6 separate regions of the Homo sapiens genome follow, and regions 1, 2, 4, 5 and 6 are each linked to region 3. Evidence: promoter capture Hi-C in 16 types of primary human blood cells and fetal thymus (Javierre and others, 2016). All regions are on one chromosome and are shown on one strand. Each heading gives the region's core, a stretch centred on a gene start or on the middle of the fragment in contact. The rest is flanking DNA. Distances are from core to core; before and after follow the strand shown.

Region 1 (4,465 bases), core at 260-2,759, 380 kb before region 3:
GCCTGCCCAAGACCATACAGCCAGGAGGCCACATGCAACACACCCAGCCTGCCTCGGGGGTGCCTGGCCCGGTCCTGGGCCTGCTCACAGGTGGTTTTGGATGCCCACGGCCCTGCTGTGTTCCACACCGTGCTGTGCCGTACCCAGCGGCATGCCAATGCCGTAGCCCTTGGTGTCGAGGAGTCCCCCGATCTGGGTGAGGTTGCAGTTGAGGCGCCGGTGGTATTCGTTCATGGTGGACTCGAGCAGGAAGGCGTAGCGGGAGTTGAGGACGCGGGCAATGCCCTCTTCTGTGCTCTTGACGAACACGCTGGGCTGCTTCGACTGCATGTAGTTCCACATGCGCTGGTACGTTTGGTACCGTGAATTCTGGGCAGGAGGATCACAAGGGGAAGATGGGAGGGTCTTTCCAGCCGCTTCCTTTCCCCGAGCCCTTCCCATCCTCCAGGAAGTCTCCCTCAACCCAGGAGAATGCAAGGTGATCAAAGGAAGACAGAGCCAAAGGTAGAGGAGAGAGAGGAGATGGACAAACTGTCCAGGCCAGGTCCAAGTCATCCCCACAGCCACTGTGCCCACCACCCACCTGGGGGGCCCGGTGAGTGCACCTCCACCTCCTTCCCCTTAACCCTCCAGCCGGTGGCCGCTGCCCAACTCAGGCCTCCTTTAGACCACTAGGACCTCCCTGCCAAGCTTGCTTTCCTCTTCTTTCCTTCCCACCACCCCAAAATACAAAAGATCAAGCACTTTTCACCTTGAAGGGCCTTCCCTTCTCTCTGTCAGCCCATATTCCTGGTCCCGACCCTTCCAGCAGCCTCCTTGATCCCATTTGGCCCATATGACATTGACATTTGATACCACATATGCCTCCCTGCCCTCATTCCCCAGTTCCCTAGCCAGCCAGCTGCGAGCCCCATGACAGCACATGTGTGTTTTCTGCTCCCCAGCCTCCAGGCTGTCACTGACAATCAGTCCCTCTGACCCAGGAGACCCTGCCCAGACCCATCCTGAGCTGCTTTGCATGGCAGGGATCCCAACACCACGCCTGAGAGGTTCTGGTGGCCCCACCTGGAAGAAGGTCATGGTGGAGCCGGCGTGGATGGTGCCATACTCGATGTTGGTCTGATCTGCCAGGTCATCGGCCGACTCCACAGGCACCTCCATGCGCTGCACGGTGAGGAAGGCGGCCAGGTTGGCCGTGTAGGAGGAGATGATGATCAAGGTGAAGGCCCACCTGAAGGGTGGGAGGGGTGAGTCACGGGCTGGAGTCACCCCTGCTGACCTGCCCCCGTGGCCATGCCCCCCATTGGTGGTGCCCCTCCCAAGTGACCCCAGCATCTGGAAGACTCAGTGACTGCTGGGTGCAGAAGCGGGGAGTGTGGATTCTGAAGCCAGACTTCCTGGTTGTAAATATTGCATCCGGAGACTTCTACTTCCAGATATAAAAGAGTAAGATGGTCTGGAAATACCCTCCCACCATAAACAGCTAAAGAGCTGGATAGAATACAGGAAACTTTTTTCTTTTTTTTTTTTTTTTGAGACAGATCTTGCTTTGTCAGCCAGGATGGAGTGCAGTGGCACGATCTCAGCTCACTGCAACCTCTACCTTTGGGGTTCAAGTGATTCTCCTGCCTCAGCCTCCCAAGTAGCTGAGATTACAGGTGCCCACCATCACGCCCGGCTAATTTTTGTATTTTTAGCAGAGACGGGGTTTCACCATGTTGGCCAGGCTGGTCTCGAACTCCTGACCTCAGGTGATCCACCTGCCTCAGCCTCCCAAAGTGCTGGGATTACAGGAGTGAGCGACCACGCCCGGCCAGGAAACTATTTAAAACATAGGACAAGAGACATCATAGAACTGTGATCCCTGAGAAGAGAAACAAAATGAGTCTTATTGTCCAGGCTGCTTGGCTGGATTTAATTTATAGGAAGGGAAGCCCAAACAGCCCAGCAATCCTGCTGAGTTGCAGAGACGGAGACTGGTGATCAGGCAGGCCAACATGGCTGGAATTTGGGGGATAGAGTGCCTGAGAGGAGGGAGCTGCAAAGAGAGGGAGGATTCAGAAACCGGTGGTCCCCTTGAGTCTTTGGCTGAATATCAATCTGTGCATGCATGGGGTGAAACTCTGTGGGGCTGGACAAGAGCAACTTTCAAGGAGAAAACAATTCTTAGAGTTGACACAGGGCTGAGAGTCTTTTGAGCTCCCTGCAGCCAGAGTAGAAAGATTTCATTGAATACATGAGACATTCAGTAGAGACCCAAAAGTGTAACATACTAGAAATAGGATTAAGTTAGCCCTAGAATAAAGGCAATGCTAAAGCTGCACTAAAAAAGCTTAAAAACAGGCCTAGAAGTATCAAAGTAATTCACAAGTAACCTAACTAGATTCCAGAAAAAGTTTATAAATACTCTGTAAAAAAATATATTCAGCAATGTAAACAATGTCTGTTATGTAATTTTTTTTTTTTTCTTGAGACAGAGTCTCACTCTGTCACCCAGGCTGGAGTGCAGTGGTGTGATCTTGGCCACTCCCGGGTTCAAGTGATTCTCCCGCCTCAGCTTCCTGAGTAGTTGGGATTACAGGCACCTGCCAGCACGCCTGACTAATGTTTGTATTTTTAGTAGAGATGAGGTTTCACCACGTTGGCAGGTTGGCCTTGAACTCCTGACCTCAGGTGACCTGCCCACCTCGCCCACCCAAGGTGCTGGGATTACAGGCATGAGCCACTGTGCCCGGCCTATTACATAATTTTTTAAAAAAATACCAGGTTGGGCACGGTGGCTCACACCTGTAATCCCAGCATTTTAGGAGGCTGAGGTGGGCGGATTGCTTGAGGCCAGGAGTTCAAGGACAACCTGGCCAACATGGCAATACCCCGTCTCTACTAAAAATACAAAAATTAGCTGGGTGTGATAGCACACGCCTGTGATCCCAGCTACTTGGGAGGCTGAGGCACGAGAATCGTTGGAATCCAGGAGGTGGAGGTCGCAGTGAACCGAGATCACCACTGCACTCTGGCCTGGGCAACAAAGCAAGACTCTTGCCTCAAAAAAAAAGGACCAGGTAAACAAAGGTGCAGGAAAATGTGACCTATAACCAAGAGAAAAATCACTCAATTGAAACAGACCCAGAATTGACATAGATGATGACGGAATTAGCAGACAAGGACATGAAAACAGCTATTATAAATACATTCAGAATGCTCAAGAGTATAAAGAAAAACATGAACGTAATGAAAGGAACAGAAGATATAAAAAGAAGTGAACAGAACTTTTAGAGAATGATATACACATATCTGAAAGAAAAATTTTACTGAAAGGGATTACACAGATTAGACACCGGCAGCAGAAAAGATGAGGGAATTTGGGCCAGGCACAGTAGCTCATGCCTGTAATCCTAGCACACTGGGAGGCCGAGGCAGGAGGATCACTTGAGGCTGGGACTTTGAGATAAGCCTGGTCAACATAGCCAGACCCTGTCTCTACAGAAAAATAAAAAAATTAGATGGGTGTGGTGGTGCCTGCCTACAGTCCCAGCAACTTGAGAGGCTGAGGTGGGAGGATCACTTGAGGCCAGAAGTTTAAGTCTACACTGAGCCTGGTCGTCACTGCACTCTAGTCTGAATGACTAAGTGAGACCTTATCGTTATTTTTTTATTTTATTTATTTATTTATTTTTGAGATAGAGTCTCGCTCTGTCCCAAGCTGAAGCTGGAGTGCAATGGCGCGATCTCGACTCACTGCAACCTCCGCTTCCCGGGTTCAAGCGATTCTCCTGCCTCAGCCTCCTGAATAGCTGGGATTACAGGCACCCGCCACCATGCCCAGATAATTTTTGTATTTTTTGTAGAGATGGGGTTTTGCCACGTTGGCCAGGCTGAGACCTTATCTTTAAAAAAAAAAAAAAAGGCTGGGCGCGGTGGCTCACGCCTGTAATCCCAGCACTTTGGGAGGCCAAGGAGGGAGGATAACCTGAGTTCAGGAGTTTGCGACCAGCCTGACTAACATGGCGAAAACCCTTCTCTACTAGAAATACAAAAATTAGCCAAGTGTGGTGGTGCATGCCTGTAATCCCAGTTACTCAGGAGGCTGAGGCAGGAGAATTGCCTGAACCTGGGAGGTAGAGGTTGCAGTGAGCTCAGATTGTGCCACCGCACTCCAGCCTGGGCAACAGAGTAAGACTTTGTCTCAAAAAAAAAAAAAAAAAAGCCAGGCACAGTGGCTCAGGCCTGTAATTCTAGCACTTTCGGAGGCCGATGGGGGCGGATTGCCTGAGCTCAGGGGTTCTAGACCAGCCTGACCAACATGGAGAAACCCCATCTCTACTAAAAATACAAAATTAGCCGAGCATGGTGGTGCACGCCTGTAATCCCAGCTACTTGGGAGGCTGAGACAGGACAACTGCTTGATCCCAGGAGGTGGAGGTTGCTGTGAGCTGAGATCACGCCACTGCACTCCAGCCTGGGC
Region 2 (4,331 bases), core at 900-3,399, 360 kb before region 3:
TGACACCTGAGAGTGAGGGGTGGGAAAGCTATGGCCCTTGGGCCAAGTCCAGCCCATCTGCCTGCCTTTGTACATAAAGTTTTATTGGAACACAGTGATGCCCACTATATTGTCCATGACTACTTTCCATACAACAGAAGAGCTAAGGAGTTATGACAGTAAGGCCTTAAAGCTGAAAATACTTACACTCTTGGCCAGAAAAAGCTGGCTAGGTCAGTGCAGTGGCCCATGTCTATAATCTCAGCACTTTGAGAAGCCAAAGAAGGAGGATTGCTTGAGCCCAGGAATTCAAGACTAGCCTGGGCAACACAGTGAGACCCCATCTCTACAAAAAAAAATTTTTTTTTTGAGACAGAGTCTTGCTCTGTAGCTGGGCTAGAGTGCAGTGGCGCAATCTCAGCTCACTGCAACCTCCGCCTCCTGGGTTCAAGCAATTCTCCTGCCTCACCCTTCCAAGTAGCTGGAACTACAGGCGTGTGCCACCATGCCCAGCTAATTTTTGTATTTTTAGTAGAGACGGCGTTTCACCATGTTGGCCAGGATGGTCTCGATCTCTTGACCTCGTGATCCGCCCTCCTCAGCCTCCCACAGTGCTGGGATTACAGGCGTGAGCCACCGAGCCTGGCTGCTACAAAAACTTTTAAGAATTAACTGAGCATAGGTGTTTGAGACCAGCCTAGCCAACATGGTGAAACCCCGTCTCTACTAAAAATACAAAAATTAGCCAGGCTTGGTGGCAGGCGCCTGTGTAATCCCAGCTACTTGGGAGGCTGAGGTTGCAGTGAGCCGAGATCGCGCCACTGCACTCCAGCCTGGGGGACAAGAGTGAGACTTCGTCTCAAAACAAACAAAAAAACCCTAGAGGTCTGCACCATGAGCTAGCCACTGGTGCTTGCTCAAGGCTCCATACAGCATTCCTATTTGCCATCAATACTTTGCGAATGAATCTCCCGATCTGCTGGTTACATCTGGCCCAGGTGGCAGATCAGCTCGCATGCAGCCTGGACTGGCTGCAGAGTCTTTGATGCTCTGGACCTCACTCCAGATGAAAAAAGCCTTACGGGCTGTAGGGAAAGTAAATGGATTGAAGTAGCACATCCCAATGTGGTATGAGTTGCCACCAAAATCCAAAAAGTCCACCAAATGTCACATCATCAACCAAACAGCACCCCCTCCTCAGCAGTCTGTCTCAGCTCTGTGGGGCCCTCCTCTAAGCTTCTAAGTTTTCATCTTTCAAACTCTTCTACTTGTCCCTTAAGGACTAAGTGTGGTAGCTGCTTTCTGCCGTTGCTACTGCCATGACCTCTTAGTTTTCTTTTTACCCCTTAAGTTAGCTGGTTAACAACTTTACATTTAGTTAACAATTCTTTATACTAAATACTCTCTATTCAAATAACTGATATGATTCTATTCAAGTAAATGGAGCTGGGTTTTGTTTTGTTTTTATTTTTGTTTTTGTTTTTGTGACAGAGTCTCGCTGTCGCCCAGGCTGGAGTGCAGTGGCACGATCTTGGCTCACTGCAACCTCTGCCTCCTGGGTTCAAGCGATTCTTGTGCCTCAGCTTCCTGAGTAGCTGGGATTAAAGGTGCGTGCCGCTGAGTCTGGCTAATTTTTGTATTTTTAGTAGAGATGGGGTTTCACTGTGTTGGCCAGGTGATCCACCCACCTCAGCCTCCCAAAGTGCTGGTATTAGAGGCGCGAGCCACCGTGCCCAGCCAGGGTTTTGTTTTTGTTTTTCAGACAGGGTCTTGCCCTGTCACCCAGGCTGGAGTCCAGCAGCGTGATCATAGCTCACTGTAGTCTCGAACTCCCAGGCTCAAGTGATCCTCCCACCTCAGCCTTCCGAGTAACTGTGACTATAGGCATGTGCCATGCCCAGCTAATTTTTTTTTTTTTTAATGTTTAGTAGAGACAAGGTCCTGCTATGTTGCTGAGGCTGGTCTTGAACTCCTGAGCTCAAGCAATCCTCCTGCCTTAGCCTTCCAAAGTGCTGGGATTACAGGCATTAGCCACTGCATCTGGCAACCGGCGCTGTTTTGTATCCAGACTGGACCCTGCCAGACTGGACCCTGCCAGACTGCCATCTGCCAGGTTTAATGCCAACTGCACTGACTCAACTACTTCCTGCTCATCAGATCTGATCAGCATACTGTTGTCAATGTAGGGGACCAGTGTGAGGCTATGTGGACTGTAGAGTTCAAGTTCTTTGCAGCCTAAATCAGGACAGAAAGTGGGAAAGTTGATGTCACACTGAGCAAGACTGTGAAGATGTGAACCTTGCCTTCTGGTAGCCCTTGGAAATTGGTATGGAGAAAAAAGCATCTGCCAGGTTAGTAGCTCACACCAGCTGCCAAGGGCTGTGCTGACTTGCTCCAATAGAGAAACTTCATTTGGGACAGCAACTGCAATTGGAGTCACCCCTGATCACGTTGACAATAATCCAAAGTCATTCTTCCAAAATCCATCTGCCTTCTGTACAGGCCAAACAGGCCAGCTGAATGTAGATGGGATCACTACCCCTGCTTCTTCCAAGCCGTTAATGGTGACACTAATTTCCACAATTTGCACAAAGGATAGAGAATTGCTTTTGAATTACTATTCTGGGAAAGACAGGGAGTTCTAGGAGCTTCCACGTGGCTCTTTCTACCATAATGGCCCTGACTCCATGGGTCAGTGCGCCAACGTGGGATTCTGCCAGCTACCATGTGTGTCTATTCCAGTTATACAACCAAGAACTGGGAAAACACAGGGTGGGACCATGGCCCCATCAGGCCCCTTCTGAGTTAACCTGGGCTCAGATTCCACCAATCACTTGACCACATAAGTCCCACTGTGTGGTCTACCAGTCAAAGCAGGAAAAATCAAAATGATATGCCATCCATGAAAATGACAGGGAGTTGTCTAAGTAGCTAAAAGCCGATAAAAACACTCAATGCTGAGAAGGAGCCTATATAGAAACTGTTGTAGTCTTTCTGGAAAATAATTCAACAAAATATCACGAAAGCCACAAAAAGGGTATTCTTCTTCCACCCAGTTATTCTGTTCAGAGAACCAATCCTAAGAAAATAGGCTGCAATGCAGGCAAAGCTTTTGTGCATAAAGATGCTTGTTGGCCAGGTGCAACAACCCATGCCTGTAATCGTAACACTTTGGGAGGCCAAAATGGGTGAACCACTTGAGCCCAGGGACTCAAGACCAGCCTGGGCAACAAAATACAAAACAATTAGCCAGGCATGGTGGTGCACACCTGTAGTCCCAGCTACTCAGGAGGCTGAGGTGGAAGGAGCACCTGAGCCTGGGGAGGTTGAGGCTGCAGTGAGCTGTGATGGCACCACAGCACTCCAACCTAGGCAACTAAGTGAGACGCCAATCTCAAAAATAAAAAAAAGATGTTTGTTAATGATTATTTATAAGAGCACAAACAATAAAAACACCTGGAAACAACTAGTTATGAAAAATGGCTAAATAAATTATGGTACATCCACATGGAATTACTACTATGCAGCCAAGTAACATTCTGTTTAGGTTAAAACAATGATATTATATTTGGCCTTTGAGATGGGCAAAGATTTTATTTTAGAGATTGGTAACACTGACTGTTGGCAAGAGTATGGGAAATTTCACATTCTCATGCACTTTGGTAGGAATATAAATTGGCGAAGCCTTTTTGAACAGCCATTTGGCAGTATACACTTAGAAAAAATTTATACCCTTTGACCCAGCACTTTCACTTCTTGGAATGTATCCCTCAGGAACACTCCCACAAATCCACAGGCCAAGTTTATCATGACACTGGCTATGCTAGCAAAGCTGGAAGCCATCCAAATAGCCATCAATAGGGGATATGGTAAATAATTCATGCTGAGCCACACAATGGAATCCTTATATCCTCACTTGAATTTTAAGCAGGCATCTCAAATGATCCGTGACCAGAGAAAACTCTTGTTTCCCGGCCCCAGCAAACTGCTCCTCCCATGTCCTCCTTATAGTGGAAACTGGCCTCGCCATTCGCCAGCTGCCCTGGCCAAACCCCATAGTCACCCCGATTCCTCTCTTCCTCTTATGCACATCCAAGCTGGCTGCACACCTGACACAGCTGCCACTCAAACCAAGGCAACATCTTCTCTCATCCACACCCTCCAACAGCCTCCTAAATGGACCATTCAGTTTCTACTCTTGTCCCACTAAGGTGTTCCTCAAGACAGCAGCCAGTGCAATCATTTTTAAATGATTTAAAAATTAGATCCTGCTGGCCTATGCATACAATGGAATATTATTCAGCCATAAAAAGGAATGCAGGCCAGGCGCAGTGGCTCACGCCTGTAATCCC
Region 3 (4,754 bases), core at 57-2,556:
CAGCTGGTGGTGGCGCACTGGGGCTGACTGGTCACAGGGTAGGACATAGCTGCAGAGGTGGGAGGGTAGGGGTCAGCTGGCAGCCTCGCAGCATCTCCTGGGCCCCGCACTTCGGCCACCCTTCCCTGTGCCGGGCAGTCTGGGCGGGGCCGCCAGGCCGCCCACTGAAGGGACACCACTGTGCCTCCCCCTTCCCTTCTGCTACATCTGGGCACCGGCAACCCCAGTCTGTCCCTGTTGCTGCTGGCTCCTGCACGTCTGGTTAGGCTGGGGGTGGGGGTCTCCTGCACATCTGAGGAAGGGTGGGGACCACATCTGGGTGGGGCCTGGCGGTGCCGCCTCCTCCTCCACGTCTGGGCCTGGGTTCTGGGTTGCAGCATTTCTGGGGCCTCTGGGGTGGAAGCAGGCGCCGTCTGTCTTCGAAGCAAGGGTGCCCAGGGGAGGGAGGCGGCCAGGTTCCAGTACTGAGAGGGTTGCTGGTCCACCCAGCGGTCCCACCTTTGCCTTTCACGTTGTCGTGCATCTCAAACTGCATCTTGCTGGCCCTGAGGAGGTGGCGTTGGGGACGGCAGAAGTGGCTGTGGCAACAGTGGCAGAGTCTGTCCAAGGGACGCTGGATACTGGGGAGGTGGGGGCAAGGGACTGGGGCACTGGGGGCTGGGCTCTCAGGGGGAGGGGAGCTGGGGAGAAAGAGGCCAAGTCAGCCTGTCAACCAGGAGAGACATGGAATAGGGAATGGATAGGGCGGGGGCGAGAAACTCGCCCATGTCTTTCCAACTGCCCGACAGATTGCAGAGGACCCTCCCCATACCCGAGATAGAGCTTGAGGGAGAACAAGAAATGGAGATGGACAGAGTCAGAGACAAGGGGAGAAAGATCAGAGCCAGGTGCCCGTAGAGATGTCACCAGTAATGCCCACATGTGCCCAGCACTTTGACTCCTCTGCAAGCCCATCTCACAGATGAGCACTGAGGCTCAGAGACATGAGGAGGAACGCCCCACGTCTGACGGCCCAGGCCAAGGGGGTTCATAGAGGTGATGCTGGGCCCCAAGACTTCTAAATTCAGCTCAGCACACCCCAGTTAAGAAGGACAGATTTGGGGGCATTGGGAAGGACAGAGATGTCCCGAGAGACCGACAATCAGCGATATGAAAGGAGACAGAGTGATATGAGTGGGATGAGGAGGAGGGAGAACAGAGCAGAGGCGCCCAACCTCAAAGAAGAGGGCTGCGGAGGGGATGTTCCTACCTGCAGGATCGCGATGGCAGTGATGGAGGCAGACGTGTGGAGACACGGGCACTGACTTCTCCGTCTCAGCCCAGAGCCACTTATATGGGCGGCCACGCAGCCCTGGGCGGGGCTCTGACAGAGGTGCCCAGGGAGCCAAGCCGGTCTGATCGACCCTCTCCCCACACTGGGATTTCCCGCCCTCCCTCTCCACTCCCATCCCCCCACTTCTCCTCCTGCCTCAGCTCCCAGGACCCAGGGAAAAGAAGGTGGCGGGGGGTGGGAGGTTTGGCGGGGGCGGGGGGCCACAGCCGGGTCAATGCGCAGAGACCAAAAGAGAGGGAGAGACAGAAACACAGTGTCAGAAAGGCAGGCAGGGAAGTCCCTCTAGACAGAAAGGAGAGAGAGGAGATTCAGAGAGATGGAGAGACGCAGGAAGATGTAGAGAGATGGAGAGGTGCCAAGAAACAGAGGGGCACAAAAATGTGAAAAGAAATAACAAGAAGAGGGGAGATGGGCCAGGCATGGTGGCTCTCGCCTGTAATCCCAACCCTGTAATCGCCTGAGGTGAGAGGATCGCTTGAGCCCAGGAGTTGAAGACCAGCCTGGGCAACATAGGGATACCCCATCTCTACAAAAAATACAAATAGAATTAGCCGGGCATGGTGGCATGTGCCTGTAGTCCCAGCTACTTGAGAGGCTGAGGCAGGAGGATCGCTTGAGTCCAGAAGTTTGAGGCTGCAGTGAGCCGTGTTCCCGCCACTACACTCCGGCCTCAGTGACAGAGCAAGACCCTGTCTTAAAAAAAAAAAAGGAAAGAAAAGGGGAGATGGGAGACAGAAGAGAGACGGAGATGGAAAAGTGGAGAGGCAGGTGGGGGGATCACTGAACAGGCTTAGAGGGCAGGGAAATGGGGAGAGGTGATGGGTGGGGAGAGAAAAAGGCCGGGTGGAGTGGGAGAGAGTGCTGTGTGGGACTCCCCTTTCAGGGTCTCGCTCATCTCTCTCAGTGATATCCCCACTTTCCTGGGAGAGGGGGACAGTGTCCTCCCCATTCAAGCCAGGAGACACATGGGGGGCAGTGTGTTTTGGGGAATGACTCATGTTGGAACCAAAGTAAATAAACACACCTCACCCCAGCTCCAAATTGGGAAGGGAGGAGGCTGGGAACTGAAAAGCCGCAGTTCCTGAAGGACGTGGACGTCACCTGGGACTCCTGGGTCCTAATGGAGCAAAGGAGTGGGGGCTTGGACCCCTGGGTCTGAGGGAGGAGGGGCTGGGGCCCTGGACTCCTGCGTCTCATGAGGCCAGGCTGCACATCCCTCAGTAGGGTAGGGGTCCTGGGATTCCACACTGCTGGGCTCCTGAGCAGGGAAGGAGCTGGGGGTCTGGGTGCCTGAATCGCCAAAGTTTCCCCCCAACAGGCCTGACGGGGTTGGGAGGTGACTCAGTGAGGGAAGCAGCATTAGAGCTGGGTGGGGTTCTCAGCACGGGTGTCACCCCAAAAATGTAGGAGGCACTAGAAAACTGGGGTGTCACCTGCAGAGAAGGTGGTGTCATCACCCCGCCGGGTATGGGGTGATGGCAGGTGGATCACCCTGCTAGCTGGGATCCCAGGTGTCCCCTCCCTCCCTCCCTCCCTCCAACACATTAGGACCCAAGCCTTGGTCTCCCAGCACCACCCAGATGGTTGGGTCTTCCTGTCCCCAGAACTCCCGGCAGCGCTCACTGTCTTGCCGGTGCACGTCCGTCATTGGTCCTAGAGCCTGGATGTCTGGGGGACATCTCCTCACTTGTGTCCTAACATCCCTGTCTCCTCATCTCTGAATCTTCGTCTCTCACCCTGCATCTTCACCTTTCCAGCTGTGAATCTGTCTTTCTTTCCTCATCTCTGCAAATCTCTTTCCAAATCTCTGTCTCTCCATCTCTGGGTCCCTCTCCTTCCAGGCTCTGTGTCTCTGTGCCCTTATCCCGGGGTCTCTGTCTCCTATGTCAAAATCTCTTCTGAATCTCGCTTCCCATCTCTGTTCATCTCCAGACCTGCCCTGTGGAGGCAGCTACAGGGCCCCATCCCCCCTGCTGTCCAGACTAAGGGTGCAGGTGACTCAAGGTCAGTCATCTCCGAGGACCCCAGGGCTCCCAGCATGACACTCTGAGTTGTCCTCAAGTTTCCTCTCTCACTCCTGACACAGCCTGGGGGCCCCAATTAGATCTAGCAATTCATGCAGGTGAGGAAATAGAGACTGGGGAAGCTGTGAGGTGGCCTGCTTGGGGGTGAGGAGGGCCGTGAGCAGGAGGAGGAGCTCCTGGGGGGCTGAGGAGTGATGGTGGCCCAGTCACCAGGCATTGGCCTACATCCTCCTCAAACAGGGTTGCCACATAAAATACAGGCTGTCCTGTAAAATCTGAAATTCAGATAAGCAACAAACAGGTTTTTTAGCATGTTTCATGCAGTATTTGGGACATATTTATACTAAAAAAGTATTTGTTATTTATCTAAAATTCAAATTAAATTGGGCTTCCTATAGTTTTATTTGCTAAATCTGGAACCCTACCATCAAAGACAGAGGAGTTCAGGACTCCAGCCCCCTCTTTTCCCAGAACCTAGGAGTCCAGGCCCCAGCCTTCCCTCCTTAGGATCTGCGAGTCCAGGTCCTAATCCTCCTCCTCCCCCTTAGAAGGAATGGGGCACCCAACCCCCTCCTCCTTTGGAAATACAGGAGTCCAGGCTCCCAGCCCCTTTCTCCCCAGAACCCAGGCATCCAGACCAGGTCTCAGTCCAGTTGCCCAATGTGGGTCAGTCATCACTTTGGGTTTCACAAGGTGGGTTGTGCCATCTGTGGCCCTGGTGGAACCGGTCCGGCAGAGCGGACAAGTGGCGTGGTCCCCCTTCCCTTCCTCAACCTGCTGTTTCCTTGAAGGCCAGCCCAGCGGGGCTGGGAGCAGAACAGGAGGGACTTGGGGAGCTCTGGGTGTGCCCCTGTGTTTGGGTGTATTGTGTCTCTGTGTGTGGTTGTGACCAATTGTCATGACAACCCCCAACTGTCATGATGTGTCTCTGTGCTTTTTCTGTGGTCTGCGGTGTGATATGAGAGGGTCTCTTCTATTTGTGTGTCTGTATTGCCCTCCTGTGAGTCTACACACTGTGCACTGCTGTTTGGGTGTGTTTGCAGTTACTGTGATTCTGTAATTCCGGTTGGATTAAGGCAGCAATTATTTATTGAATGGCAGCCTTATGTGATGGACTCTGGAGCCAGAAAGCCTGGGTTCAAATTCGTGTTTTTTTTTTTTTTTGAGATGGAGTTTCACTCCTGTTGCCCAGGCTGGAGTGCAATGGTGTGATCTCAGCTCACCGCAACCTCCACCTCCCAGGTTCAAGCAATTCACCTGCCTCAGCCTCCCGAGTAGCTGGGATTACAGGCATGCACCACCATGCCCGGCTAATTTTTTGTATTTTTAGTAGAGATGGAGTTTCTCCATTTTGGCAGACTGGTCTCGAACTCCCAACCTCAGGTGATCCTCCCACC
Region 4 (4,490 bases), core at 341-2,840, 290 kb before region 3:
TGATGCAGGAAGCTGTGCATGTGTAGGGGCAGAGATAGATGGGATATCTCTATATCTTCCACTCAGTTTTGCTGTGAATCTAAAACAGCTCTTAAGAAATTAAGTCCTAAGCAATGAGTAGATTGCAAATAAAGTAAAAGTTAAGAAAAAAAAAAAAGGACTGGGAGGGCAATTAGAGAGATTTACAAAAAAGCAACAGCTCTATCTGGGATTCTTCATTGCCCTAACAATAAAGGATATGAAGCAGGTGGTGGGTACAGGGATGTTTGTCGCTCAGGTCCTTTATCCATTATTCTCCAAAATGCTGGGGCAGATGTTTAGGAATTTTTCAGTTTTTTTTTTTTTTTTTTTTTTGAGATGGAGTTTCACCCTTGTTGCCTAGGCTGGAATGCAATGGTGCGATCTTGGCTCACCATAACCTCTGCCTCCTGGGTTCAAGTGATACTCCTGCCTCAGCCTCCCGAGTAGCTGGGATTATAGGCATACGCCACCACACCCGGCTAATTTTGTATTTTTAGTAGAGATGGGGTTTCTTCATGTTGGTCAGGCTGGTCTCGAACTCCCGACCTCAGGTGATCCACCCGCTTTGGCCTCCCAAAGTGCTGGGATTACAGGGGTGACCACTGCGCCCTGCCTTTTTTTTTTTTTTTGGTATAAATTTAAGGACAGCCGAGTGCAATGGCTCACACCTGTAATCCCAATACTTTAGGAAGCCAAAGTGGGAGGATCGCTTGAGCACAGGAATTTGAGACTAGCCTGGGCAACATGGCGAAACCCTATCTCTACAAAAATTTTAAAAATTAACCAAGCATGTGGGGCGTGACTGTAGTACCAGCAACTCAGGAGGGCTGGGGACTGCTTCACTTGAGCCCAGGAGGCTGAGGCTGCAGTAAGCTGTGATCACACCACTGCACTCCAGCCTGGGTGACAGAGTAAGACCCTGTCTCAAACAAAAAACAAAATGTTAAAAGATACAAGTGCAATTTTGTTACACAAATGTATTGTGTAGTGATGAAGCGTAGGCTTTTAGTGTATCCATCACCCAAACAGTGTACATTGTACCCATTAAGTAATTTCTCATCATCCACCCACTCTCACCCCTCTCAGGTTTTGTTGTTGTTGTTGTTTTAGAGACCAGTCTTGCTATGTTGCCCAGGCTGGCCTCAAACTCCTGGGCTCAAGTGATCCTCTTGCCTCAGGCTCACAAGTAGCTGAGACTATAGGCATGCACCACCGTGCCTGTTTCAGTTTTCAGAAAACCTACATAGGCAGCCAGGCACAGTGGCTCATGCCTGTAATCCGAGCACTTTAGGAGGCCGAGGCAGGTGGATCACCTGAAGTCAGGAGTTCGAGACCAGCCTGGCCAACATGGTGAAACCCCATCTCTATTAAAAATACAAAAATTAGCTGGGTGTGGTGGCGCATGCTTGTAATCCCAGCTACTTGGGAGGCTGAGGTAGGAGAATCGCTTGAACCTGGGAGGCAGAGGGTGCAGTGAACTGATATTGAGCCAATGCACTCCAGCCTGGGCAACAGAGCGAGACTCCATCTCAAAAAAAAAAAAAAAAACAAAAAGAAAGAAAGCCTACATAGGATGTATATCATAGATAATGTGGCCCGGCCCCCACCCCCACTAGGGTCAAGAATATTACTCCTTAATCAGATACAGTAACAGTTTTGCAGCAGCAAAAATGCCATACCAAGAGGGACAAAGAAAAGTCATACACTGGCTTATATCATGGCAGGGCAGGTTTTGCAGTCAAATGAGTTCTCATGCCAATGGTGGAAGAACAACTTGACTTTCTGAGCATTTGGGATTTCAGAACTGCAGTTAAGACCTGTATTAGTCTCTAACTCTTCAGTCAGTCCTTCTGAAATAGTTCACATATATTTTTTTAAAGGGCTATAAAAAATGGGTAGAAAAAAACTTTGAAATTCATAAAAGGTAGTGAAAATTATCATTAAAGTCTAGAACTCAGGCAGCAAACTGAAAGAAAGGCCTCGGGGTCCAGGTGCCAAGGTGGCCTGGAGAGCTGGCACCCTCTCTAAGGGGCCTCTGCTCCTGCCAGTGGCCAGGCCAACTGCTCACTGCGCCAAGCCACCACGTAGACACAGGTACAGCCCTGCCAGATTTTCTGGTTTATCAAGAGGAGCTGGAAATGTGGTGCTTTCTGGGAATTTAGTTGACAATGACCAAATAAAAGACACCTGTGGGCCTTGTTTTCAGTCTCCAGTCTGGGAAGTGGATGTGAAATAATCACCTAACGAATGCCTTGTTCAGAGAATCCTCCGTTGCAGTGCTGGAAGAGGCCCGAGGCATTTGCAGCCTAAAGGCTTGCAGCCCCTTGCAATTTTGTGTGTTTTTACACATGAGCATTTTGGGGGAATGGGGATCAGATCTAAATCTTTCATCATATTCTCAAAGGAGCTCATGTACTAGAAAGGGTTAAGAACCACTTGTCTGGGCCAGCTCCCCTCATTCTATAGAGGAAGAGGCTGACCCAGACAGGGAGATGGGCTTGCCTGAGGTCTCACAGCAAATCACTGGCAGAGTGTGGCTGGGTCAAATGGAAAGGAGACTCTCACTCATCCCCCACCCCCGTTTACCCAGCTTTCAGCAGGCCTTGCTGCTGGCCTGGCCTGGTGCACTCAATGGACAGTCTCACCTGTGTGGGAAGCCCGGCCCGGGGCTGGGAGGTCAGAAGAGCTCCCTGGGTTTGCTGAGGTAGCTGGAATAGATTTGGTGTCGGTAGCAGGCCTGGAAAGACAAGGGGAAATACACAGGGTGAGGGGGAGGGGAAGGTGAGGAAGTTCTGTGGAGGCGTCAGGGAGGCCATCTGGGGTGGGGGCCTTACCTGGCTGGCTCTGCTGGGCCTGCGGTAGCAGGAACTGAGCAGGTGGCTGGAGGTGGTGGCCTGGCACAAGCACCAGCTGCTGGAGCTGGAGGAGCTGCTGTATGTCCTGGCAGGGAGTGGGGTGGACAGAAAGATAGCCTGAGTCCTGGCTGGGTTTCATCCTCTCTGCATCACCTGAACCTTGAGGGGCTGAAACCAGGAAGCTGCTCCACATGGCGATCTGGCACTGGGCAGTGAGGGATCGTCCACTCGGTCTCTGAATGGCATCCCTGAGCTAAGGGCACCCAGAGGCTTCTCTCTACCATGGGGTACCAGAGAGTCCCAACTGGGCAGTCCTGGGAGGGCTCACTCTTTATTTACCCTTTCTTTCTTTTTTTTTTTTTTTTTTTTTTTTTTTTTTGAGTCTCGCTCTGTCGCCCAGGCTGGAGTGCAGTGGTGTGATCTCGGCTCACTGAAATCTCCGCCTCCTGGGTTCACGCCATTCTCCTACCTCAGCCTCCCAAGTAGCTGGGACTACAGGTGCCCGCCACCACTCCCAGCTAATTTTTTGTATTTTTAGTAGAGACAGTTTCACCATGATAGCCAGGATGGTCTCAATCTCCTGACCTTGTGATCTGTCCGCCTTGGCCTCCCAAAGTGCTGGGATTACAGGCGTGAGTCACCGAACCCGGCTACCCTTTCTTTCTTGATGAAATATTTTCCTTGTTTTAACATTTCCGCAGAACAAATAGAATCATTTAAAAATGTAAGCCAGGCCGGGTGTGGTGACTCATGCCTGTAATCCCAGCAATTTGGGAGGCTGAGGCAGGCGGACACACCTGAGGCCAGGCGTTTAACACCAGCCTGGCCAACATGGCAAAATCTCGTCTCTACTAAAAATACAAAATTAGCCAGGTGTGGTGGTACACGCCTGTAGTCCCAGCTACTCCGGAGGCTGATGCAGGAGAATTGCTTGAACCTAGGAGGCATAGGTTGCAGTGAGCCGAGATCACGCCCCTTCACTCCAACCTGGGTGACAGAGCAAGACTCTGTCTCAAAAATAAATAAATAAATAATAAAATTGTAAACCAGACCAGGTCTTTCCTCCTTTAAAAACACTCCTGGCTGGGCACGGTGGCTCACACCTGTAATCCCAGCAATTTGGGAGGCCGAGCCAGGCGGATCACGAGGTCAGGAGATCGAGACCATCCTGGCTAACACAGTGAAACCCTGTCTCTACTAAAAATACAAACAATTAGCCAGGCATGGTGGCACACACTTGTAGTCCCAGCTACTCAGGAGGCTGAGGCAGGAGAATCGCTTGAACCCGGAGGCGGAGATTGCAATGAGCTGAGATCATGCCACTGTGTCTCTGCACTGCAGCCTGGGTGACAGAGCAAGACTCTGTCTCAAAAAACACAACAAAACAAACAAACAAAAAACACTCCCAAGGCAAATGATTTCATGTCTGGAATTAGCTTTAAAATACTCCAGCAAATAGTGTAAATTAGTACAACCACTCCGGGAAGCTCTTTAGCACTGTTATAGGTTGCAGTGTCTCCCCCCACTCCCTGCCACCCCCCAAAAAGGTAAGTTGGAATCCTAACCCCCAGAACCTCAGAGATTAACCCTATTTGGAGATAGGGTCTTTGGCAG
Region 5 (4,792 bases), core at 994-3,493, 280 kb before region 3:
CCGCCCACCTCGGCCTCCCAGAGTGCTGGAATTACAGGCCTGAGCCACCCTGCCCGGCCCAGGGGACGTATTTTATCTCCCTGGGCAGGATAGCTACAAGTCTGGAAATGCTGACACCCATTTTACCTGCCCTACAATGAAACAGGGAGACAGACCCCTGGAGCTGGGCCTGATATTCCAGACCAGGCCTTTTCAGTGATCTGAGCCAAATATTCCTGAGTCTTCTTCAGCCACCTGGACTTGGGCTTTGGCTCCTCCCTCCCAGCTCATCCATCCCTATTTGTGCGGCTACAGCCTGCCCTGTTTTCTCACTTTGCACTTGCCATTCCCACAGCCTGGAAGCCCCTTCCCAGCAAACTCCTTCCCATTCCCCTGAGTTCAGATCCCACCTCCTCCTGAAAGCCTGGACAGATGTGGGTCCTGATTCCCTCAGACACACATCACATTTCTCTTCCCACATTCCCATCACACTCAGTTGGTTTCTTTGGGAAACTTTCACTCGCTAGGTCGTAGCAGCCTAAAAGATTTTGTCAAGCTTTATTTGCCATGGTCCTATTAGGAAAATAGGAAATTTTCCCCCCTACTCTCCAATATAAAATGATGTTTTAACTGTTAACGTAAGTTTTCAATCAATGCCTGCCCCTACCCCAGACATTCTGAAATACTTCCCTGGAGAGATATCTCTCCTATCCTTGATTGAAAATCTGCCGCAAAACATCCCTCATTGATTCGGTAAATATCCACACAGCCCCCTCGGCAGAAGGCAGCACACTGAGCAATGGACAGACAAATTATAGAACTGTATTATAATTGCCCCTTCGTCTGTACAAGCTAGGAGATTGCAGGGAAGGATCCTGCCAAACTGTTTAACCAGCATTTACTTTGGAAGCTGACATCAGAGGGCTGGAAGGGGGGCTTTTCCTTGGTACTTTATATAATTTCAAAGGGATAGCATTTATGAGTGTTTTTTACTCTCTTTCCTGGGCTTCTTAGTATCTTTCAAGTGAAACATTTCTTAGTGGCTCACTGATGTGCTTGCTCCACTGCAGGACGGGGAGCCCCTCAGGGGCAAGGATGGCTGTGACTCACTCCTAAGTCTTCAGCTTCCTGCCATGGCCTGACACACAGGAGGCCAGGAAATGTTTGTGGAATGACTGCAGGATCAGAGCTTAGCAGGCATGAGAAGTGGACTGGGGGGTGGAGGTCATGAGATGCGGCCCGGGAGAGACATCCGAGCCTAGGAGCCGGGGAAGGCTGGAGCAGTGGGTAGGTAAGTCAGGAAGAGCTGGTCCCTCTGCAGCCTGGGCCCAGCACAGTGCCCATAGGAGGTGCTGTTGTAGAAATGACGTCAAAGGGCAACTCAGTTTGTGAGAGAGAATTCCCAGAAAACAAACTTGGCCCAGCTTTGCACTTGTTGAAGACAGAAAGGGAAAGATCAGAGCTGAGGGAAGCTGGGGAAGGAGGAGTGAGAGGAAAGGAGGAGGGGTTTAAGGAGCCCTTGACAATCAGGGCCTGGGCTATACGGCAGGTGGTGGAGGCTCAGCTTGCTGCTGCTGGGTCCCTGGGGAGCTGGGGGAGGTGGCTCTAGGAGTGCATAGGCAAGAATGTCTGCTGCTCACAGAGATGGTGGCCTGGCTGGGTCTGCGCTAGGCTGCCCTGTTCTGCCTTCTATCCTCTAGTCTTTGTTCCTTCAACTGATATTTCCTCGAGCAGATTCAGGCACGGCTGGGGGGAGGGAAGTCATCATGACTTCCTAGAGGTGTGGACTCCTGGGCTGGGGCTCAGATGAAGAGGAACTGTCCAGGTAAAGGAAGGGAGCAGACTTCCCGGGAAAAGAGAGAACAAGAGCAGGGCCACTGAGATGCAAAAGAGCTCAGCCCCAGTGAAGAGCCCCAAGCCCTTGGCGTTGCTCAGTAAAGGGCTGTCTATGCTACAAGGCAAATGGAACACCTGCTGCTGGAGTCTCTGGTGGCCGGGGTGGGAGGGGCTAGAAACCATGTTCCGTGAAGGACAGCTAAAAGCAGCAGCCGCGGATCATGTGGTTAGAGCCCTGGACTTCCAGGCCGGCTCTAACACTCATGCTTACAGAATAATCTGGGGCAGGTCACTTTACCCCTTGGAGCCTCAGCTGTGGGGAGGATTCATGGGAGCAAAGAGGCCATCACTGGCATGGTGCCTGGAAGAAAGGTGGCACCCAACAGACTAGTTACTGTTACTTCAAGAGCCAGGTATTGAAAGGCTACATCTGGGCTGAGCACCGTGGCTCATGCCTATAATCCCGCACTTTGAGAAGCCAAGGTGGGCAGATCGCTTGAGCTCAGGAGTTCAAGACCAGCCTGGGCAACATGGCAAAAACCTGTCTCTACAAAAAATATGTATATATAAAAAAATTAGCTGGGTGTGGTGGCATGCACTTGTAGTCCCAACTACTCAGGAGGCTGAGGTGGGAGGATTACTTGAGCCCAAAGAGGTCGAGGCTGCAGTGAGCCATAATCCGCCACTGCACTCCAGCCTGGGCAGCAAAGCAAGACCTCATCTCAAAAAAAAAAGGCTACATCTACAAGAGCCATCACGGAGCCATGCGCCCAGTTTACAGAGTGTCTCCACAGAACCAGGCCCAGTGGAAGGAAGTTCTAAGGAGGCAGGTTATCAGCTCAGTGTTAAGGAAAGTCCCAAATGGGAGCATTGGCCAATAATGGAACGGGCCATTATTGGGGTGAACTGTAACAAGGGAACAGCCTTACCAGGGCTGGACAGCTCCCTGCATGGACAGCATCTATATCTAGGGTTCTGTGGAAGTGGTTGGACGGAGTGAGAGAAAAGCCTTTTGTGGAGCAGTCACTGAGGGAAACGCCAGGCTAAGGGAAGTTAAACAGGTGGCTTTGCTGTAGGGCTTCCCACGACCTTCACTGCCCTGAAACTTGGCCACAGCTCTAAGGCTTATGAAAACCAGACAGACAACATGAATGGGTGAAAACCAGACAGACAACATGAATGGGTGACATGGGAAGGGGTGGACAGGAGTGGGCTGGAGACAGCTGCCCTTCGGAAGAGGAAGCCTACTCAGCTCCCACTCTGCTCCCCCGGCTGTCCTTATGGGAACTCTGTTGGCCACTGTTAGGGGTTAAATTGTGTCCCCAAAAAGATATGTGGAAGCCCTCACTCCTGGTACCTGTAAATGTGACCTTATTTGGAAATAGGGTTGCAGATGTAATCAAGTTAAAATGAGGTCAATGGGGTGGGCCCTAAACTAATGACTAGTGTCCCTACAAGAAAGAAAAATTTGAATACAGAGACAGGTGCACAGAGAGAAGATGGCCATGTGACGACAGAGGAGGCAGAGATTGGAGTGAGCCATCTACTAAGCTATGGAACACCAAGGATTGACAGCACCATCGGAAGCCAGAAGAGGCAATGACAGATTCTCCCTGGGAGGCTTCAGAGAGAGCACGGCCCTGCCGATACCTTGAGTTTGGACTTGTGGTTGGAGACAATATGTTTCTGTTGCCTTAAGCCACCCAGTTTATGGTATTATGTTACGGCAGCCCTAGGAAACTGAGACAGCCACTAATTCATGATTAACTATGGACCAGCAAAAGCTCCAGAGTCAGGGAGGTGATGGAGAACCTCCTAATTCATAGATCACGGGCCCCTTTTTTGAAAGAGCATCTTGTTGGATAAGCCAGGGGACACGATGAGGGTAGGGCACTCATTCTTATTCTTAACCTTTTGTTTTGTACCCACATGGTACCATTCACGAGAGTGACTCCTGGTTTCCTTACCTGTATGTTGAGGACAACAATCTCAACCTCCCAGGAGGCTGTGAACTCCCAGCGAGATGCACAGGAAGCACTGCCCCCAACACACCACCAGAGGGAGGATTATGATGTGGGATATTCCTCCCTGTGAGCCTCACTTTACCCCTCTGTAAGATGGGACAGCAACATCTTCCAAAGCTTCCTAGGGTTGCTAGGAACTGCCTGGCATGTGGCTGGTGGTCAGAACAGTCCATGTGGACCAGTCAGCCCCTTCCCACACACTCACTGTTTCTGCATGTCCTTCACTGCAGGGAGCCTGGTCCCCAGTGGCTGCCCTTACCTGTGCTGTGAGCTGGATGGGTTGGGACAAGGTGAGCTGTGGGGTCCCAGGGGGCTGGCTGGCAGGCTGTGGTGGTGGCAGGTCACCCCCCCCAGAGGAGGCTGGGGGCTGTGAGGTCGAGGAGGAGGCAGAGGAGGAGGAGGAGGAGGAAGTAGAGGAGGAGGCGGAGGCGGCGGCGGCGGCGGCAGCGGCGTTAGCGGCAGCGGCGGCACTGGACTGCTGCACGGCGGCGGCCAGGAGCTGGGCCTGGGCTTGCTGCAGGAGGAGCTGCTGCTGAGCTGGCATCAGTGCCGTGAGCTGCGGGGTGTCGGGGACAGCAGGAATTGGAGCAAGGGGTTGAAGAGGAGCAGAGAAGGCAGAGAGGGGTTAGTGCCTAAGCCAAGCAAGTAAGGGGACAAGACCTCCTAGAGGACAGAAGAGGGCAAGAGGCAGGTGTGAGAGAGTGGCCATGGCCTTGGTGGAACAGTTCATCCACTAGCCCTGTAACAGATGAGGGGTGGCTGGTTTGTCCCCTCGTCCCCATCCTTCCCCAAGTACTTACCCCAGCTAGCTGGCTGCCCGTCAACATGAGTTGGGCCTGGGGCAGATGAGGCTGGGCCGGCTGAGGGGGCAGGGGTGCTGCTGGGGCTGAATCGCCACTGGGGTCTTCAGCCTTGATCTGGGGGGGAGAGAGGCAGGGTCCGGGACCCCAGAA
Region 6 (5,048 bases), core at 286-2,785, 430 kb before region 3:
ATTTTGTTTTCCCAGTGGTCCTTGGTACTACTAGTCTGGGAACCACATGAAACATACTCCTCGGCTTCCCTCTCTAAGTTCCAAGTTCTTTCTGGTCACACCCCAGAAAGCAGGAAAAGAAACGGGAACAGATCTAGGCCAGTGTAAGGTGGCCACCTGGTGTCCAGTGTGGGCACCTGCAGCTGATGTTGGCCGCAGAGAGCGGCAAGGGGAGGAGAGAGAGGGGAGGAGTCATGTGGTTTGAAAAGGAGTAGGTTTAAGGCACAGCAGCCAGGTGGATCCTGGGTTTGAGGAATAGCAATTTGAGGGGGCTGAGACTCGATGGAAGGATCGGTTGTGTCTGAGATTTTAAGGGATCAGGTTTGGGGGATCTAGTGTACATCTAGGCTTGGGCGGACTTGGGTTTTGAAGGACTTGGATTTGGGGTCTGAGGTCTGTCTGCATTCCAAAAGACCAAGATTTGAGGGACCAAGGATTCATCTGGGCAGGGGGTTTCTCACCAAAGAGCACAAGCTTGGACTCCAAGGTGCGCAGATAGAGAATGTAACAGGCGCCGAAAAAGACAGCCAGAGCCACCAGCAACATAGGGGACGTCACCCTGGAGGAGGAGTGCAGGGAGGCAGCGGTTAGACAGCTGGGGCTGGGCCAGCCCGACGGCCCTGGCCTTCTCCACCGGCGGGCGGCAAGCTACATCCTGGAGACCAGGGAGGGCCAGGTGACATTTAGTCACACTGCATCCTGGCCAGGGTGATGGTGGGGTAGGGGACCTGGCCCTTTGGTGACAAGGTAGTCTAGCAGAGCCAATCCTTGGGGGCGGGGCCTGGGCGGTGAGAAGAGGGCCCTGGGCGGTGAGAGGAGGGACCGGGCGGTGAAGGGCGGGGCCTGAGCGGCGAGAGGAGGGGTCCAGCCGGTCGGGGCTAGTGCGGGTGCGGGGCCCGGGAGGCACTCACACACAGTACAGGATGAGGCCCAGGAACACGAACACATAGTTGCTCTGGTAGTACTCCACGTTGCGTACGAGGCGCTGGCACAGCTCTCCCAGGTTGCGGGGCCGTGAGAAGCGCTGCTGGTCCACGAAGGTGCTCCAGGGCCGGATGGTCGCGCGGCGCCGCTCCAGCCACTCCCGGCCTGCACCGGAGGGAATCAGCTTCGGCAGCAGGGTCCTGCGGGGGGTGGGGCCGGGTCAGTGGTGGACCGGGATGGAGCCCCAGACCCCCGCAAAAGAAGGGGACTAAGGGTGCCTGGACTCCCTCCCGGGACCCCAGATTCCTGTACAGCAGGCAGGGAGGGGACTAGGGGCCCAGACTCCAGGGTCCCATTAGAGGAGACCGGGGCCAACACTTCTGCGGCTCGGGGCTGGGACTCCAGGCTCTCGAGGGAGGAGGGAGGAGGGGGCCGGGGGCCCGGACTCCCGGGTCTCTGGTCCGAGGGCCTAGAGCCAGCTCGCTCACGTGCCGCTCAGCCCTTCCGCCTCGGCATCTTTCTGCTGGTCCTTCTGCGCTGCCATGTCTGCGTCGTGAGGGGTAGAGCTGCTGTAACCAGCCCGGTACCCTGAAGACCCCGCCGGCCCCGCCCGACGCCGGCCCCACCCAGCGGAGTCGACGTGGCGCAGCCCCGGAGCAGCTGGGGACTGTAGTTCTGCCGCCGAGTATTGTGGGAGTTGTAGTCCTGACGGTGACTAAGAGGATGGGCGCTATGATGGCGGTCTGACTCGCAAAACACCTTGGGAGATATAATCCCAGAAAGTGACGGCGCGCGCCTCTGGGTATTATAGGAGTTGTAGTTTCAGGAGGGTGCATGTGGGCTGTCAGGAGCGAGGGCGTTATGGGAACTCTAACGGCAGAAGCGGGCGTTGTGTACTCTCCCAGGGAAGGCACAATGGGGACCGTGCAGAGCTGTCCTTCTGACTCTAGAGGGCATAAAAAAACACCTGGAGGGCTTGCTAAAACAGATTCCTGGGCCCTAGCCCAGATGTTTTCATTCAGCAAGTCTGGGGTGGAGCCCATAATTTCCATTTCTGAGTTCCCAGGTGATGCTGATGCCCCTGGTCCATGGACTACATTTTGAGTAGAAAGATTTAGATAATTTGTGGGAATTGATTCCTTCCTCAAGAGATTGAGGCTAGTGAGGGGGCCATGGTTGCTGGAGGGGTATCTGAGGTTGCCCCCTGCCCCACCTTGTGGAGTCCCAAAGATGAATGAGTTGGGGCTAGGGACACCTCCGACCCCGCCACACACACCTTTGGAGAGAAGGGAGTGAAGTTGGGAAAGACAAAAGGTTGAGAAGTTTTGTGGGCTTTTTTGAAATGGAGTCTCGCTCTTGTTGCCCAGGCTGGAGTGCAATGGCGCAATCTCGGCTCACTGCAACCTCTGCCTCCTGGGTTCAAGCGATTCTCCTGCCTCAGCCTCCAGAGTAGCTGGGATTACAGGCGCCCGCCACCACGCCCAGCTAATTTTTGTATTTTTTTAGTAGAGACGGGGTTTCACCATGTTGGCCAGGCTGGTCTCGTACTCCTGACCTCGTGATCTTCCTGTCTCAGCCTCTCAAAGTGCTGGGATTACAGGCGTGAGCCATTGTGCCTGGCCCACAGGGCTGGAATTCTAATTGAATTCTAATGGGGTGAACCAGAACAGGGCCTCAAGAAATGTGTGTGGAAGTATAGGGAAGCCTGGGCTCCCTTAAGCAGACTGGGATCCTAATTTTCCAAAGCAGCTGGGTGGGGCTGGAAGGAAAATATCTATATGGGATAACCAGGTGACCTTTTTTTTTTTGAAAATTTTTTTAAGTAGATAAGGGATTTTGCTGTGTTGGCCCAGTAGGTCTCAAACTCCTGGACTCAAGCGATCCTTCTGCCTGGCCTTCCCAAGTATTGGGATTACAGGTGTGAGCCACCATGCCCAGGTTCAAGTGACTTTTTTTTTTTTTTGAGACGGAGTCTCACTCTGTCGCCAGGGCTGGAGTGCAGTGGCACAATCTTGGCTCACTGCAACCTCCACCTCCTCCTGGGTTCAAGCGATTCTCCTGCCTCAGCCTCCCGAGTAGCTGGGATTACAGGCGCCCGCCACTATGCCCAGCTAATTTTTTGTATTTTTAGTAAAGATGGGGTTTCACCATGTTGGCCAGGCTGGTCTCGAACTCCTGACTTTGTGATTTGCCCGCCTCGGCCTCCCAAAGTGCTGGGATTACAGGTGTGAGCCACTGCGCCTGGCCCCAAGTGACTCTTTTAGGCCCAGCTCTTGTCTTCCAAGATCTACAGCAGTTTAGGGTTTGTGCTTTGAGGCCTGCTGGAAGGTGTTCCCAGGAGGTGGGAGGAAGATGGCCCTGTCTGAGGGGCTGGTGGCGCAATAGGCAGGGAAGCCCTTTGCAAGGGCCCCACACTGAAGATGGAAGAGTTACACTTTGAAGATCAGATTGGCTAGTTACTGTTTATTTCCTCTTTGTCACCCCCAGGCTTTTAGTGGAATCAGGTTTCCTTTTTTTTTTTTTTTTTTTTTGAGATGGAGTTTCACTCTGTTGCTCAGGCTGGAGTACAGTGGCACAATGTCTACTCACTGCAACCTCCGCCTCTCGGGTTCAAGCGATTCTCCTGCCTCAGCCTCCTGAGTAGCTGGGATTACAGGTGTGCACCACCATGCCCAGCTAATTTGTGTATTTTTAATAGAGACGGGGTTTCACCATGTTGGTCAGGCTGGTCTCAAACTCTGACCTCGTGATCTGCCCACCTCAGCCTCCCAAAGTGCTGGGATTACAGGCGTGACCCATCACACCTGGCCTGGAATCAGGTTTTCTAAATAGGATTCAAACTTGAAAATCAAAGGAGGACTGCGGGGCTGGGCGTGGTCCTGTAATCCCAGCACTTATGGGAGGCTCAGGAGGGTGGATCACTTGAGGTCAGGAGTTCAACACCAGCCTGGCCAACATGGCAAAAGCCCATCTCTACTAAAAAAAAAAATACACATGCCTGTAATCCCAGCTACTCGGGAGGCTGAGGCAGGAGAATCACTTGAACCCAGGAGGCGGAGGTTGCAGTGAGCCAAGAGTGTGCTATCGCACTCCAGCCTGGGCGACAGAATGAGACCCTGTCTCAGAAAAAAACAAAACAAAACAAAACAGAAAACACCAAAGGAGGAGTGCAATAGCACAATTAGCCCCGAGCAGGAATAGGGGAGCAGCATCTGAATTCAAAGGGCCAAAGCAGCAGAGGTAGCCCTTGGAAGAACCTCCACCGAAAGACAGAGCTTGGGGAATAGAATTGGGACAGAGCTCCAGCTGCCTCTTTGGTGGCAGGCCGTAGGAGATTCAGGATGGACTTTTGTTATGAGAGCTGTTGGGTTTCCTTATAGGAACTGAATGAAAGCAATTTCATTCCAAAACCCACTGGTCTTTGTTCTGAGCAGAGAACATAGAGGCAGAGGCCTGGAGGTGTCGAACAGCGCAGGCCATGGCAAGAGACGGGGAGGGGGACAGTGGAGTCTGAGGGGCAAGGACATTGCAGGAGGGGTCCTAGGAGTGGGAGGGTGGGGGGGGACTTTGAATAAGGGAATTTCAGGAGATGGGACCTGGACACAGGGGTAATGTGGGAGAGGAGGGCCTGAGGCAGAGACATCATGAGATGGTGAGAAATGGGGTCCCTGAGGGAAGGGGCCTTTGGCAGATGGGCCCTGAATTAGGGGGGTAGGGGGTTGGTGTGCTGGGAGATGAGGGGGCACCTGAGAAGATTGTGAGTCCCAGGCCAGGTGTGGCTCACGCCTGTAATCTCAGCACTTTGGGAGGCCAAGATGGGCGGATCACTTAAGGCCAGGAGTTCGAGACCAGCCTGCCCAACATGGTGAAACCCCATCTTTACTAAACATACAAAAAAAAATTAGCTCGGCGTGATGGTGCACGCCTGTAATCCCAGCTACTCAGGAGGCTGAGTCAAGAGAATCGCTTGAACCCAGGAGGCAGAGGTTGCAGTGAGCTGAGACTGTGCCACTGTACGAGACCCTATCTCAAAAAAAAAAAAAAAAAAAAGAAAAAGATGGGTGCCTCCAGCCTGAGGACTCCTC

The links. The method cuts DNA at HindIII sites, captures the fragments that hold promoters and counts their contacts. A CHiCAGO score of 5 or more calls a contact.
Region 1: a fragment that was not itself captured here is called in contact with the fragment with the promoter of CNFN in region 3 in 1 of 17 cell types (naive B cells); the score reaches 5.2 in naive B cells.
Region 2: a fragment that was not itself captured here is called in contact with the fragment with the promoter of CNFN in region 3 in 3 of 17 cell types (erythroblasts, naive CD4 T cells and naive B cells); the score reaches 6.5 in erythroblasts.
Region 4: a fragment that was not itself captured here is called in contact with the fragment with the promoter of CNFN in region 3 in 15 of 17 cell types (fetal thymus, neutrophils, naive CD8 T cells and 12 more); the score reaches 13.0 in fetal thymus.
Region 5: a contact is called between a fragment that was not itself captured here and the fragment with the promoter of CNFN in region 3, in 17 of 17 cell types (naive CD4 T cells, naive B cells, fetal thymus and 14 more). The highest score is 21.3, in naive CD4 T cells.
Region 6: the fragment with the promoter of RABAC1 here is called in contact with the fragment with the promoter of CNFN in region 3 in 3 of 17 cell types (erythroblasts, total CD4 T cells and fetal thymus); the score reaches 6.8 in erythroblasts.

Annotation. Positions count from the first base shown.
Region 1 is chr19:42,005,580-42,010,044 of GRCh38, forward strand. It overlaps GRIK5 (glutamate ionotropic receptor kainate type subunit 5), which reads right to left. Exons shown (of 20, transcript NM_002088.5): 16 at 1,066-1,231; 17 at 144-369. Among named protein-coding and RNA genes, the nearest start is that of ATP1A3, 14 kb to the left of the region's middle. The HindIII fragment of the contact is 1,642 bases long and covers 689-2,330 here.
Region 2 is chr19:42,028,739-42,033,069 of GRCh38, forward strand. All of the region lies in intron 12 of GRIK5 (glutamate ionotropic receptor kainate type subunit 5), which reads right to left. Among named protein-coding and RNA genes, the nearest start is that of ATP1A3, 37 kb to the left of the region's middle. RefSeq lists an enhancer at 3,244-4,016. The HindIII fragment of the contact is 1,873 bases long and covers 1,214-3,086 here.
Region 3 is chr19:42,388,991-42,393,744 of GRCh38, forward strand. It overlaps CNFN (cornifelin), which reads right to left and starts at 1,307. Exons shown (of 4, transcript NM_032488.4): 1 at 1,250-1,307; 2 at 1-49. The coding sequence starts at 47. The HindIII fragment of the contact is 9,287 bases long and covers 1-4,754 here.
Region 4 is chr19:42,096,861-42,101,350 of GRCh38, forward strand. It overlaps POU2F2 (POU class 2 homeobox 2), which reads right to left. Exons shown (of 15, transcript NM_001394376.1): 6 at 2,856-2,961; 7 at 2,667-2,758. Among named protein-coding and RNA genes, the nearest start is that of ZNF574, 23 kb to the left of the region's middle. The HindIII fragment of the contact is 9,200 bases long and covers 1-4,490 here.
Region 5 is chr19:42,112,611-42,117,402 of GRCh38, forward strand. POU2F2 (POU class 2 homeobox 2) reads right to left here. Exons shown (of 15, transcript NM_001394376.1): 5 at 4,640-4,792. Among named protein-coding and RNA genes, the nearest start is that of POU2F2, 17 kb to the right of the region's middle. RefSeq lists an enhancer at 1,701-1,860. The HindIII fragment of the contact is 3,421 bases long and covers 534-3,954 here.
Region 6 is chr19:41,957,786-41,962,833 of GRCh38, forward strand. RABAC1 (Rab acceptor 1) reads right to left here and starts at 1,536. Exons shown (of 5, transcript NM_006423.3): 1 at 1,452-1,536; 2 at 951-1,163; 3 at 501-598. The coding sequence starts at 1,507. RefSeq lists silencers at 744-813, 1,264-1,513 and an enhancer at 1,624-1,913. The HindIII fragment of the contact is 29,553 bases long and covers 512-5,048 here.